Regions from separate parts of the Homo sapiens genome. Here regions 1, 2 and 3 are each linked to region 4. The links are contacts of gene promoters, found by promoter capture Hi-C in human tissues and cell types (Jung and others, 2019). All regions are on one chromosome and are shown on one strand. The core of a region is centred on a gene start or on the middle of the fragment in contact, and the rest is flanking DNA. Distances in the headings are between cores, read along the strand shown.

What was found. The method cuts DNA at HindIII sites, captures the fragments that hold promoters and counts their contacts. A contact is called where the count stands out against the background at its distance.
Region 1: a contact is called between a fragment that was not itself captured here and the fragment with the promoter of MRPS28 in region 4, in 1 of the 25 tissues and cell types used here (H1 embryonic stem cells).
Region 2: a contact is called between a fragment that was not itself captured here and the fragment with the promoter of MRPS28 in region 4, in 2 of the 25 tissues and cell types used here (adrenal gland and dorsolateral prefrontal cortex).
Region 3: a fragment that was not itself captured here is called in contact with the fragment with the promoter of MRPS28 in region 4 in 2 of the 25 tissues and cell types used here (adrenal gland and hippocampus).

The regions. Positions count from the first base shown.
Region 1 is chr8:79,887,495-79,890,462 of GRCh38, forward strand. No RefSeq gene overlaps it. Among named protein-coding and RNA genes, the nearest start is that of LINC01607, 120 kb to the left of the region's middle. The HindIII fragment of the contact is 7,138 bases long and covers 1-2,968 here.
Region 2 is chr8:79,829,048-79,832,347 of GRCh38, forward strand. The region is part of intron 2 of LOC101927040 (a long non-coding RNA gene); the gene reads right to left. Among named protein-coding and RNA genes, the nearest start is that of LINC01607, 63 kb to the left of the region's middle. The HindIII fragment of the contact is 3,269 bases long and covers 1-2,976 here.
Region 3 is chr8:79,870,758-79,874,026 of GRCh38, forward strand. LOC101927040 (a long non-coding RNA gene) reads right to left here and starts at 980. Exons shown (of 6, transcript NR_110954.1): 1 at 812-980. The HindIII fragment of the contact is 9,505 bases long and covers 1-3,269 here.
Region 4 is chr8:80,028,599-80,031,932 of GRCh38, forward strand. It overlaps MRPS28 (mitochondrial ribosomal protein S28), which reads right to left and starts at 1,661. Exons shown (of 3, transcript NM_014018.3): 1 at 1,438-1,661. The coding sequence starts at 1,650. The region is part of intron 5 of TPD52-MRPS28 (TPD52-MRPS28 readthrough); the gene reads right to left. It also overlaps a transcript of TPD52 not described here. RefSeq lists an enhancer at 1,384-1,813. The HindIII fragment of the contact is 9,025 bases long and covers 1-3,334 here.

The DNA of each region.
Region 1 (2,968 bases), core at 200-2,699, 140 kb before region 4:
ATAGTTACTGAAGAAAGGAGATATTTTGAATGTGTTTTGAAATAGACATCAAATAATACAGGGAAAGCACACAGTTCTTTTTTTCAAGTGATTTTATATTGTGATATGCATCATCCTTTCTTAAAGCAAGGAAAGTCTTGGCACTGTCAAATCTATTAATGTAGCTTTATAATTATTACTCCAGGGAAAGATAAGAGCTTTTAAAATTTTTTAATGAGAGCTCAGATTTTAGAAATTTCCAGGATTTTGCAAATTCAAATATTAGAATCAATTTTGGAAACATCTACCAGTTATCCTTGCAATTGAGCTAAGACAAATGAAATCTTAATCTTGGAATTTCATTTCTGATGCTCTATTTCCATTTACATAAATTCTTTTCCTTTTTGTATGTCTCAGGAATAACCAAGTTCTTTTGATCTTGTTTCCTTATTTTTGTGTTCTCTAGAGAAACCCAGATATTCTTTTGTTCATATTTGTTGGACCATGACCAACAGTGGTCTGACGTGCCCTGTGCACCTCTAGTGTAATTTTCCATGTAATCCTTGTGATCAATTCTGAATTTGCCTTTCCCAGATATTTTCTGTAATTTTATCAAACTGCCTCCCAATTCTTCATGACATACACAGAGAATTTGACCCAAATCTAACATGCCGAATGGTCTTTAGCCAGCCTCCTCTGGATTGGGATCTCACAACTAAGCAAAACCAGGCCTCAACTCTTCTTGGATGGAAAATCCGAGGGAAAGAGGATGTAAACTGAATGATAGTCTTTCCTGCAATCAGCACAGAGCCAACCACCCCTTATAGTCTGAGGTTTAACTGAAGCGCATCCATTGGAGTAACACGTAAAACTAAGCTGCTGTTAATTTTTCTACTAAAATGCTTCATTTACCTAACATTCTTGAGGAATGAAGAATTCTACTTATCTATTTCACAACTAACTAAAGCTTATTCCCTTAAGTGCTAAAATCTATTTTAAATCAAAATCCTTATAATCCTTATACTTGCTTGCCTTTCTAAATGGTGCAATAAGTGTAATTTCACCTTGTCTTCAGGATTAAAGTTCATAATTATTGTCATTTATATGGAAAATATTAATGGCCTTTTGTGCTGAAAAGGAAAGGTTTGGTGGTGGTGGTGGTGTTGTTTCGAGACAGAGTATCGCTCTGTTGCCCAGGCTGGAAGTGCAGTGGTGCAATCTTGGCTCACTGCAACCACTGCACTCCCAGGCTCAAGGGATTTTCATGCCTCAGCCTCCGGAGTAGCTGGGCAATTTTTGTATTTTTAGCAGAGTCAGGGTTTCGCCGTGTTGCCCGGGCTGGTCTGGAACTCCTGAGCTCAAGTGATCTGCCCACCTCAGCCTCCCAAAGTGCTACAATTACAGGCATGAGCCACCGTGCCTGGCTTGGAAAGGGAAGTTTGCTCACACATGCAACGACTCCATATGAACCTATTTGTTTTTTAAATTACTTGGCACTTCTTTTCTGAAGTCTGAAACTCTCTTCAGGTTATCAGTTACAGTGAGTATTCTATCTTTTCCATTCTAATGGTCTATTGTGAGGTGGATTTTAAAAAAATGACAACAAACCAATACTATTAGGATTGTGCTTCAAGAAAAAGCAACTGTGGGTGTCTGTGGGAATCTCCTAATAACAAGGTATATGACCTTCAGTGCATGGCCATATAAGTCTTTTTTAAAAAATGCTTTCTAATCTGATAGTTGTGTATCCGAGAGTTAACGCTGGGAGTCATTGTTTGAGTCAAGTGTTACCTCACCAGAGCATTTCCTTATTAAAAAAAACGCACAAAAAAAGTATTTAGTTCTCATCACTTCCCAGGCAGTTTTATGACAGGTCCTGCTTTCCTGTTTTTATTAATGGGAACGGACAAGTCAAGTGACTTATTGAAGGCCAGCAACACGAGGGGTAGAACCAGATACAGAAGTTTCATCTTTTAACTTCTCTGATCAATTCAGTAAACTCATCATGATCTATAGGACTTGAACTTAACTGAATTTTTAATTGAGTATTTTTTTTGGTAAATCAAATGTTATAATGATAATATATTTAGTGATGTCTCTAAATGATTTTTTATAAATGGAAGGACTGAGGGAAGCCTTCTAGAAAGAGAAGGCAGAGTTTTTTCAGTTGCCCTAATGGCCTGGATGCCTCAGGATGCCTTCTTCTACCACCTGGGATTTGGCGGTAGAAACCCAGTTTAGAATTTATAAAAAGAAAGTTACTGCCAATCATGTGGCCCCTTGAGAATATGTAACAAAATGAAAGGAGATAGATGGATGTTTCTTGTCTGGTGTCTATAATTCCACCTGATACATAAAAGGCATTAAGTTGATTTACTTGATTTTTAGGAGAGTAAAATCCCGCATAAAAATCAACAGCTCTTTTAGCCTAAATCTTTAGTACACAAAGTTTTTTGTTAGAAGTGAAGCAGTATCTACAATTAACAGATTTATCAGGCTATATATTTTGTTTTAACGCAAGCATGAGCCACATAGGCCTCTGCAGGGTAGTATGCTAAAGGCATTATCAGCTCAGATGTTTCTGCCTTACCCTTGGCCATTCTGATGTGAGAGATTTGGGGCTGTGGGTGGGTGGGAGGACCCCAGGTTACAGGAGTGGGAGGACGGCTGAAAGCAGGGGAACTTCTAAATGCCCTTCCGTGACTCTCCCAGGCTGAGTGGAGTGGCATCTGGATCAGAGGTTCTCATTGTACCCAGCTCCACACTAAACTTTCAGCATTGGACAGAGAGAATTGGTTAACTTCTTGTTGTCCACAAGGCATAAGGTAGTGTCATGTGAACTATTAGTTTCATTCACTGCAATTATTTATTTCTTACATTAAATTTTGCTCAAGTCCCTTACAATTTTCCAAAGATAGACATGTGGATGTGGGCAAGCAGGCAAAAAAGCAAAAAAGCAAACAACAACAACAACAACAACCTCTTGAAT
Region 2 (3,300 bases), core at 92-2,591, 200 kb before region 4:
CTGTGTCACGGAGGGAGGTGTCCTGGGAGGGAACCTCACCCCTCCCTAGAGAAGAGGAAGCTTCCCGCAGCCAACCTCAGAAATAATCGTCTCCCTGAGTCCTGAGAAAACTGCCCCAAATGTTAACACATCAATCTTAAGGAAACGAGCCTGGCTTTTACCGACTTAATTTCATATAATTATTTCAGAGTTTAAGTCTTTACAAGAAAGAGGGAGTGGAGGGAAAGGATCAGAAAATTGAAGGGGATGAACAGAAGAGGAATGAGATTCCTTTGTTTTGAAGATTCCCATTTCTCTCCCAGTGTGCAGGGCATCTTTATCTGTGCTTTCGTCTCTCAGGAGCAAATGCACAGCACACTCAACAGCATGTGGAGAAGCTTGGAAGGCGCTGATTTCGGCTCAAGTCCGTTTTTAAAGGACACTTTAATAAAGCATCCTCTTGTGTCTTGGATCTTAGAACACCAAATGTACAGTGAAATGAGGTCAGAAGACCTGTGTGCCAGTCCTGACTCCTGACCACTAAGTTATGATGTAGTTGGCACAAGTCATTAAGCTTCGGGGACTTTATTACATCTCTAAAATGGAGGTAATGAGACCTCCCCTGCCCCCCTCTGGGGGGTTATATATAGGAAAATAGGAAAACACTTTGAAAAGTTAAAAATGCTGCTATACAGTCAAAAGTTATTATTCTTACAATAATAAAGTTCATTATGAGTATTCTGTAAGTACATTTTTAAATTTAATTTTTTTACATAGAAACAGGTTCTCACTATGTTGCCCAAGCTGGTCTCAACCTCCTGAGCTCAAGCGATCCTCCTGCCTTGGCCTCCCAAATAGCTGGGATTACAGGCATGATCCATGATGCCCAGCCTGTAAGCAGTTTATTATCAGTATTCACATAAGAGCCAGCAGCATAGGATTTGTTAAGTAAGGAAAAAGCTCGGACACCATCTAGTCCAATCAGTTTTAAATGCATCCATTTAAAATGTAAATGACAAAGCCTCATCCTCCAGAAATATTGATTCCATAGGTATAGATTAGCCCAGAAATCTGGATTTTAGATCACCACCTTGGGATATTCAGAGATAGAATCCAACAACCTGACTTTGAGCAACGTTGTTTTGCAAAACGAGGACATTTCTCATTCTCCTACTCCCTGGCCATATCCTTCCTCCCACTGGGGCTGGGTGTGAGAATAGAGCACATTACTTTCACATCTCTTCATTAATATTTCAGAATCTACAATGTGAAGGACTGGGAAGAAACAAAGCAGAATCGGGGATTATGTTGATGGGTTTGGTTTCCCTTTAATGATGAGAAAAAATGCATGTCTGCTCTGAGCAGATGATAAATTGATCCAGAAAATGTTGCACAAGTGTTCTTTGCTAAGCTTCAGGGTCAAAGTCAACAATATAAAAGAAAATATACCTCCGTTTAGTTGAAAAGGACTTACGTTCAAGGCATTGCACAACAGGTCTGGTGTGGGTTACACTCTGTCAAATGGCCCTGTTCATTTATTCAGCTTTCCACAGATCTTTGCCAAAGAGGACAATGAGAGAAAGAGACAGATTTAGCTGTTGTGGTTGCAGTTTGTTTTTGCACCTGGTGGGTTTTTTTTTTAAATGACAATAGTTTGAGAATATCACGACAACATTTTTAAAGATAATGAAATCATTTGTATGTGAAGTTGGGATAATGAAATGACAAGCCTCTCATAAAAGGAATCTCCTTTTAGTAACCATTGCCTATACTTGCATTAAGTGAAAAAAAAAAAAAAAATGAACCGAGGAAGAACTTTCTAGAAAGATAGATAGCTCCTAGAAATCTGGGAGCTTTTCATCATTATTAAACTCATTTGTCTTGCAACTTTCTATTCCTAAAATGAGCAAAAAATTTAACAAAAGCAGTCTCTGGAAAACCAAAACAGAGAACTCATAACATATTCCATTTACTCATAGGAAACTCTCAGGTACCTCCTCAAACCTCTCTACACACAGTTCTAATGCACATCTGCATGCACACACGTGTAAGTGTGTGTCTATATTGGTCTTCTATGCTCACAGTAAACACTGAACATCAGAAAATTAGGGTAGAAGAATTTCTGGAAATAGGTGCATTGATAACCAGAGTGATTGGTCAATGGACTGATGAAAAGCAGGGAGACGAGAGTATATTTAAAAGTTTTCAAAATAACTTCAGAATCTGAAAATTTGGGACCCTTTATGTGCCCTATTGCATTGCAGCAGAGTAACAAAATCTTGTTCACTGTCATGATCCCAAGGCATCAAGAAAAAAATTAAATTTCATCCATTTTCTCTGTTTAAGAAGGTACTAAACAATGTATTTTGGAAAGATTTTCATCAAAAATGTTTAAAATTAAAAAGTCCATGCTGAAAGAGACAAATCCTTATGTTTCCAGAACTCTCATTTACTCAAAAATCTTTTTTCCCAAAGTTTCTGAATAAGCAAAGTTTGTCTAAGGAGCAAAGATTGGGAGAGAGGAGGAGTGGGAGGAGGAACAGCTGTTCTGAATTAAGAAGCATGTTAATGACAGCACAGGAGTCAGAAAGATGCTCGGGTTCGCCTGCTGGTCTAAGAGGCAATGTATTAAACTGTCTAATAAAAACAATTGTTCTAGGCCTGTGATAATGGACATGAGGAGAAAGATTTGGAAGACAGCATTGACGAATGAAGTATCTGTGGCATAAAACCACTCTCTCCTGCGCCCTCAGTCCAAGGCTGTTATCAGAAGTAGGTGACACTGCACAGGCACGGGGTGACGAGGGGCGTGCTGGAAATGGCCCAGTCTAACTCACTCACATTTTGGCTTCACAGGGAGCATTTTCTGAGAGGGTCGATCACCTGAACTGCAAATGGGCCAGGGCAGGAACAAGAGGGGAGAAAAGGGGATGCTTTCAACAGGAAGATTAATGATAAACACGAAATAGCATGATGACTGTGAAGGTTTCAGGCACCGGAGATGCTAAGAAAAAAGAAAACAGAAAGTCTTTTTATCTTTACAGTGGTTCCTATAAAGGGGTCAGCAGGTCGTGGTAGAAACTATCAGTTAATTATCTCTAGGTCAGCAGCATGCCTCTAGTCAGAGAGCCCAGCCCCCTTGCAAGGAGACCCTGAGCTCACTGATGCCGACCAGGAAAGGCCAGGGGTGGGGGGAGGAAACTTCTGAGCAGGAGACAGAAGCTGCACCAAGCCCCTCATCCTGCTTGCCTCTCACCCCTGAATCTACATCCCATAGACACTGAAAACGTTCCCCAAACCTGCCACTGACTAGGGAGCTCT
Region 3 (3,269 bases), core at 640-3,139, 160 kb before region 4:
CTCTTCAAAACATTAAATTTGAACTTGTTTTGTAAGAATCTAAAATTCAGGCTGGATATGTCAACTTAGGCTGCAGCAGAAGGTTTTACGGTGGAGCAGGAGGATATCTCACTCCAGCTGCTAGGAAACAGAGAAACAAGCCTGATATTATGTGTTAAATAGTAAGTAAGTAAACAATTAACGTGGCTGTCAGGCTCTGTCTGTGTTCTTAATCCTGTATTCACCCCACAGGCTGAGAAGGCACACTCAGAGAATCAGCCCAGCTACAACCTAATGGAATAAAAATGAGCTAAGAGGAAACAGGAGCAAGAAACAAATGCATTAAAGAGAGAGAGAAAAAAGAGAGCAATATTCTCTAAAAATCATCATGTATATTTGTACACAAAATACACAAAGCAAATAGATGTGAGGGCCCTTGGAATTTAATATATGGCTGTGTCCTGGTCATTTCTCTGTCACAGAAAAAAAATAAGCCCTTTCAAAGCCCTGGTCTGAAGGAAGAGCTAACATCAAACAACCTCAGAATAACCAGGAGATTAAAGCCTGACGCTATTCAACTTCCTGCCTTGTAACTAACTAATCTCCTTAGAGATGGAAGAAGACGAGGAGCCGCCATTGTATCAGAAAAGCTTTCCGGATCAGAGGCAGCAGCAGCGTGGCGTATTAAAAGGAGCACAGGACCAGGAGTAAGAGGACTTGCACTGCTGCCCCTCCTAGGTCAGCCCCCCAGAATCCTGTGCAGCCCACACGTCCCCTCTCTAGAGGTTAACTCGATGGCCATCCCCCCACACGGCTCCCCTGCTCAGCACACCTGGGAGTAGCCTTTGACACAGTCAGCGCGGAGGAAAGGCTTTCTGGCAGAGGAAGAACTCGGCACCATTTCAAAGGCTCCTTGCAGCCGCCTTCTACCGACCACTCATGAGGCCAAGGGCACCTCTAACATTTGCGTGACTCTCGACTGTTCCCTAGACTCCATCTTTAACCGCTAGTTTCTAAGCAATCCCCGGTCCTGCCAGCTCCCGGGTCTGGCTCTCCTTTTGTTCCATTCCCAGTCTAGCCTTGGCAGTTCCTGGTCCTGGCCTCAGATGTCCGCCATAATTCAGGGGCCTGGCATGGCAACAGTACTTTAACTAGAAACCTAGAAGTATTTTGGAAAATGACTATGAGCAAATATGAGAGGGTAAAGCCACTTCCACAAACCAGTAATGCTGACCCAACTTCCACAAACTAGTAATGCTGACCAACAGACACAGCTTTCTGTTATTTGGTGAAACTTAGGAGAAATTTTGCAGAAAGTTTTAATACCGCTCCTGCCCAGGCCCCCTCCAGAAAAAGTCAGATCTGTTTATCAGTCAGTCTTACATTCATAACCAGCTTATGAAACTGGGGATATTATTAATATTTAAACTAAAAAAGGTAGTATCTGCAAATACTCACCTTGCAGTACCCTCAAATACTCAGTACATCACAAAAAGTAAACTACAATATTATAATGTACTCAAAACCACCCAAAAGGTACTGATCTACACAGTGAAAAAATACTGATGAGTTATAAAAGCAAATATATCATCAAAACCTAGGGACTAATATTCCAAGGTAATGTACCATTGAAACAGAACCATAAGAATAATCATATTCTGCCATATATATATATATATATTCACACACACACTTTTTTTTTTCTTTTTTTGACACAGAGTCTGGCTCTGTCATCGAGGCTGAAGTGCAGTGGCATGATCTTGGCTCACTGCAAGCTATGCCTGCTGGGCTCAAGCCACTCTCCCACCTCAGCCTCCAAGTAGCTGGGACTGCAGACATGGGTCACCACACCCAGCTAATTTTTGGTATTTTTTGTAGAGATGGGGTTTTGGCATGTTGCTCAAGCTGGTTTCAAACTCCTGAGCCCAAGCAATCCACTCGCCTCAGCCTCCCAAAGTGTTGGGATTACAGGCGTGAACCACCGTATCCGGCCCTATATATTTTATAGTTAAAATATCCTAACCACTCTGTCTCCTCTCCATCCCCCAACTGAATTCTATGCAAAGTCATAATCTTTTTTTTTTTTTTTTTTTTTAGACAGGGTCTCTGTCACCCAGGCTGGAGTACAGTGGCACGGTCCCGGCTCACTGCAACTTCTGCCTCCGGGGTTAAAACAATTCTCCTGCCTCATAGCTGGGTTTACAGGCATCTGCCACTATGCCCAGCTAATTTTTTTTTATTTTTAGTAGAGACGGGGTTTCACCATGTTGGCCAGGCTGGTCTTGAACTCCTGACCTCAGGTGATCCAACTGCCTCACCCTCCCAAAGTGCTGGGATTACAGGCGTGAGCCACCGTGCCTGGCCTTCATAATCTTCTTTCTGTTTGTTATTTTTCAAAAAACGGGCAATCACTTGAACAATAATACGAAGATTGCAAATATTCACCAAGCAGAATTTAGCACAAGGAATTTAGCACAATGAATGCCTGTTGAGTGATGAATAGATGAATAAATGAATGAATGAATGAATGAGCAGACAAATGAATAAAAATTCAACTCTTGTGATTGCTGCTGAAAAAATTCAGAACCAGAATCTGATCTATTTTTTTTTAAACATCTGGTAGTTCAGAAGACTTGCCTCAGTGTAAGGTGGCATTTAAATGATAGTCCAGAACTATTTTCAAAGTGAACAGAAACGTATGATTCAGGTTCATTTTAAAAGTCAAACTAGTTTGACCAGGTTGGCTCTTTTCTTCCCGTGCACTTGACTCCTGCGCTCTTGGCGCTGGAAGTGATTAAGAGGTGTGAGCCATCCCACTGGAGCTGCTGTTTGTTCACAGTGATGACCCTGGAGGCCGCCAGGCTGTTTCTCTAGGCAACCAAACTTACAAAGAACTCAAGGAGGCAAACTCTTGATTATACTGTAATGCTTTCAGAAGCAACATAAGGCTTCTCTTGAAAATGTCTTTGTGCTCTATTTTTTTTTTTATTAAAACTTTAAAGTCAGTGGCTCCAAGTAGAAACAATGAAGAGCCTACCTCCCACCTCACTAGAGTCATTTATGGACCCAAGAAAGAAAGGCAGGGGGGCAGCATTCTGAGCATGTATTCATTTTATTAGACACCCTGAACCATGGAAAAGCCAGATCAGTGAGAATGCACATAGTGCTCACCTTTTCCCCAATTCCCCCAGTTCCTCAGTTTGCTGCTTCGTTTATGCCTTCTATGTCATGAACGATTAGGTTTCACTTCTAATACTTTCTTCCCACAGCATCAAACATGTCTTGTTTTG
Region 4 (3,334 bases), core at 411-2,910:
TATCTAGGGAGGCCAATGTAATCACAGGGATCTCAAAAGCAGAAGACGGGCGGGGGGGGCGGGGCCGGGCGGGGTCAGCCAGGCCAGGTGGCTCACATCTGTCATCTGTAATCCCAGCACTTTGGGAGGCCAACGCAGGAGGATCACTTGAACCCAGGAGTTCAAGACCAGCCTGGGCAACATGGCAAAACCCCATCTCTACAAAAAAAAACAGAAAAAACAATTAGCCCAGAGTGGTGGTGCACACCTGCGGTCCCAGCTATGAAGCAGGAGGATCACTTGAGCCCAGGGGGTTTAGCAGTGAACTGAGATCATGCCACCACACTCCAGCGTGGGTGACAGAGCGAGACCCTGTCTCAAAAAACAACAAAACAAACAAAAAAATCCAAAAAACAAAAAAGTAGAAAACAGAGGCAGAAAAGACAGGCCAGGAAGAGATTCTCCTAGAAGCTACGGAAAAGAACACAACTTCACCAACACCTTGATTTTAGACCAGTGAGATCCCGTCTGACTTCTCACAACCCTAACAACAACACATTTCCTGTGTTTTACGCCACTAAATTTGTAGTAATTTGTTACAACAGAAAATAATAAACTAATATACCAGGCTTCTTCTAGTCCTTGGATTTCAGAAAAATTTTGACATCAGTAATTGCTACTAAAATGACCCTATAACCCAGGACACTGCCAGTCTTGTGAACTGTTTGGTACTACTCCCTAGGAAGAAAAATACAGAAATTGAGAGTTTATTTGTATATAATTCAATTTCATGTCTGCTGAGTTTAATTATTAAAAACTTAGGCTTGTAATTTTATTTCTTCCATTTCATTTATCTATAAATTTATGGTATTTTACAAAAGTACTGGCTGAGACAAACGGAGATTTTACTTTACTTTTTAAAAAAAGAAGACATTTACAAAAGAGAGGTGAAGCGCTGACAAGTTAAATCACTTGCCCAAGTTCAGAAAGTGATTCATCACCCAGTCATTAAATTAACAAATGTTTATGAAGGGCCTTCTACTCCAGACAGCAAGCTCCATGCTAGAGCTACTGTTCAGAACAAGACCCAGCAGAGCCCTGCCTCTCCGTGTGAGTCCCATTCTCCTTAGCGTCCCAGGAATCGCCCTAGATCGCCTCCCCAGCAGCGCTCCCCGCTGGTTACCTTCCCACCAGCATTCAATCCCAGGAAAACAAGCGCAGTGTGGACAGACCCGGCCCAGTACGCAAATGCCACACAAAAGGACAACGAAAGGAAGAAAAACACCAAGCACAGATTCTAGGGGCCGAGGGCTGAGCCACAACGCACCGCAACTCCGGAAAACTGGGCCCCGGACCTCAGCTCCCCTTCCTAAGCCAGGCTCCGCCCCTATTCCCGACCCCGCCCACCGCGTCGTTGGCGTAATTCCCGCGACTCCCTCTCACCCGCCCGGGCTCCACCTTCTGTAGGGGCTCCACCTTCTGTAGAAGCTCCGAGTGCCGCTCCAACGCGCTCGCGAAACCGCCTGCGCGCGTCTTAGGCTCCTTGGCATTGGAACTACCACTTTCGGATCCACTCTCAGTGCCTACACCCCGAAAGGGCCTGAAGAAGAGAAACACTCGCAGAAAATGGCTCTCGGCAGCCACAGCACGGGTCCGACACAGCGCCGCCATGACTTCTTTACCTCTGACCTTTGACCTCCCCTCCGCAAGCGCGCGGGTCACGGGGCGGAGCTATGAGAGGTCCGCCCCCCGGACGCAGAGCTCTGGAGGCCAACGAGGCGTGTCTTCCTTTCATCTGGGAGTGGCGTGGGGAAGAAGAGACTTAAGCTAAAATTGGTGGGCTAAATAGTTGGAAAGGGGCCTGGTTAAGTTTTGCGTTAGAAGTGCGTTTAACTTGCAGGAATTTCGCCTTCCTGGGCATCCGTTGGACCCCATTGTACTGTAAATTCTGCTAACGCGACGCTCGTTCTCCCGCCCTGCCGTCCCCCCTACATGGCCGCCAGCACTCGAGTTTGGGGTCTTCACTCAAATATGAGGGTCTCCTTGATTACCCTATTTAGAAGTGGAAGCCCAAATGCAGACTCTCTGGCACCTGTTTTTCTTAGTACCATGTAGCACTTTCTAATATGCCACATATTAATATTAAATATTTAATAATATTTAGTGTCTACTCCCAACTTTTTAAACTTTGAAAAGAGGAACTTTGCTGTAGGGTCCCTAGCACCAGGCACAGATTAGGGCTCACCCAACATTTGCCAAACCCTGCATCCAAGTTTGTCCTTTGCCACTTCTGCAGCCAGTCCACTCACGCCACAAAAATAGTTTTTCTGAAATGTTTTGACACCTCTAGATACCTATTATCTAACTTAGGAGTTCAGAAGTTTTGGAATGTCCCTAAGTATTGCACCGCCGTAGGCCCCCACCCTCACTCTGGATTTTCTTTCCCTTTTCTCCTGCAGTGTTAATTCCCAAAATTTACCCACCCTGTTCAAAACAGCCTAACATCATTCTTAAGTGTTTATTAATTAGTTGTCCGTCTATCTTTGACCCAGCAGTTTAATATTAATCCACAGTTAGTTTTATTTTGGGGGCACACACCTTTCCAGTTCATTTGCAAGTACTTCGAGAGAAAGAATTTTTATGATCACAGACCCTATTTTAAGAATGCCTTGACTATGGGTTTTAAGCTTTTCTGATGCTCTCTAATGGTACAGATAGTGTTAAGAACACGAAGTACACTGATCTCAGAATGGTGCACAATTGTATGAATCACATAAAATTATTACTAGCTAACTGTATGGTAGTCCTTACAAATTCATTAAATTCTCCAGGTGAGTTCTCCCTCTTGGCAGTTAAAACTGTTTATCTCCCGAGACTATTAATGGACTCTTGCCTAGAACATTATTTTCTACGGATAGTGCTACTTCCACTTTTTTTCAGGAGAAAGTGTGGTAAATTGTAAAGAGCATGGCCAGTGGTCTTCAAGAACCCTCAGTCTGACTGGGCAGGGTGGCTTACACTTGTAATCCCAGCACTTTGTGAGGTTGAGGAGGGAGGATTGCTTGAGATGAGGAGTCCGAGACCAGCTTGGGCCATAGCAAGAACCAGTCTCTACCAAAAAATAGAAAAATCAGCCTGGGGCAGTGGTGCATGCCTGTAGTCCCGGCTACTTGGGAGGCTGATGGAGGAGGATCACTTGAGCCCAGGAGTTTGAGGCTGCAGTGAGCTATGTTCCTGCCACTTCACTCCAGCATGGGTGAAAAGTGCAAAACTCAAGTATCCGTAAAAACACACCCCTGGCGTGGTGGCTCACACCTGTAATCCCAGCACTTTGGGAGGCCAAGGAGGGCAGATC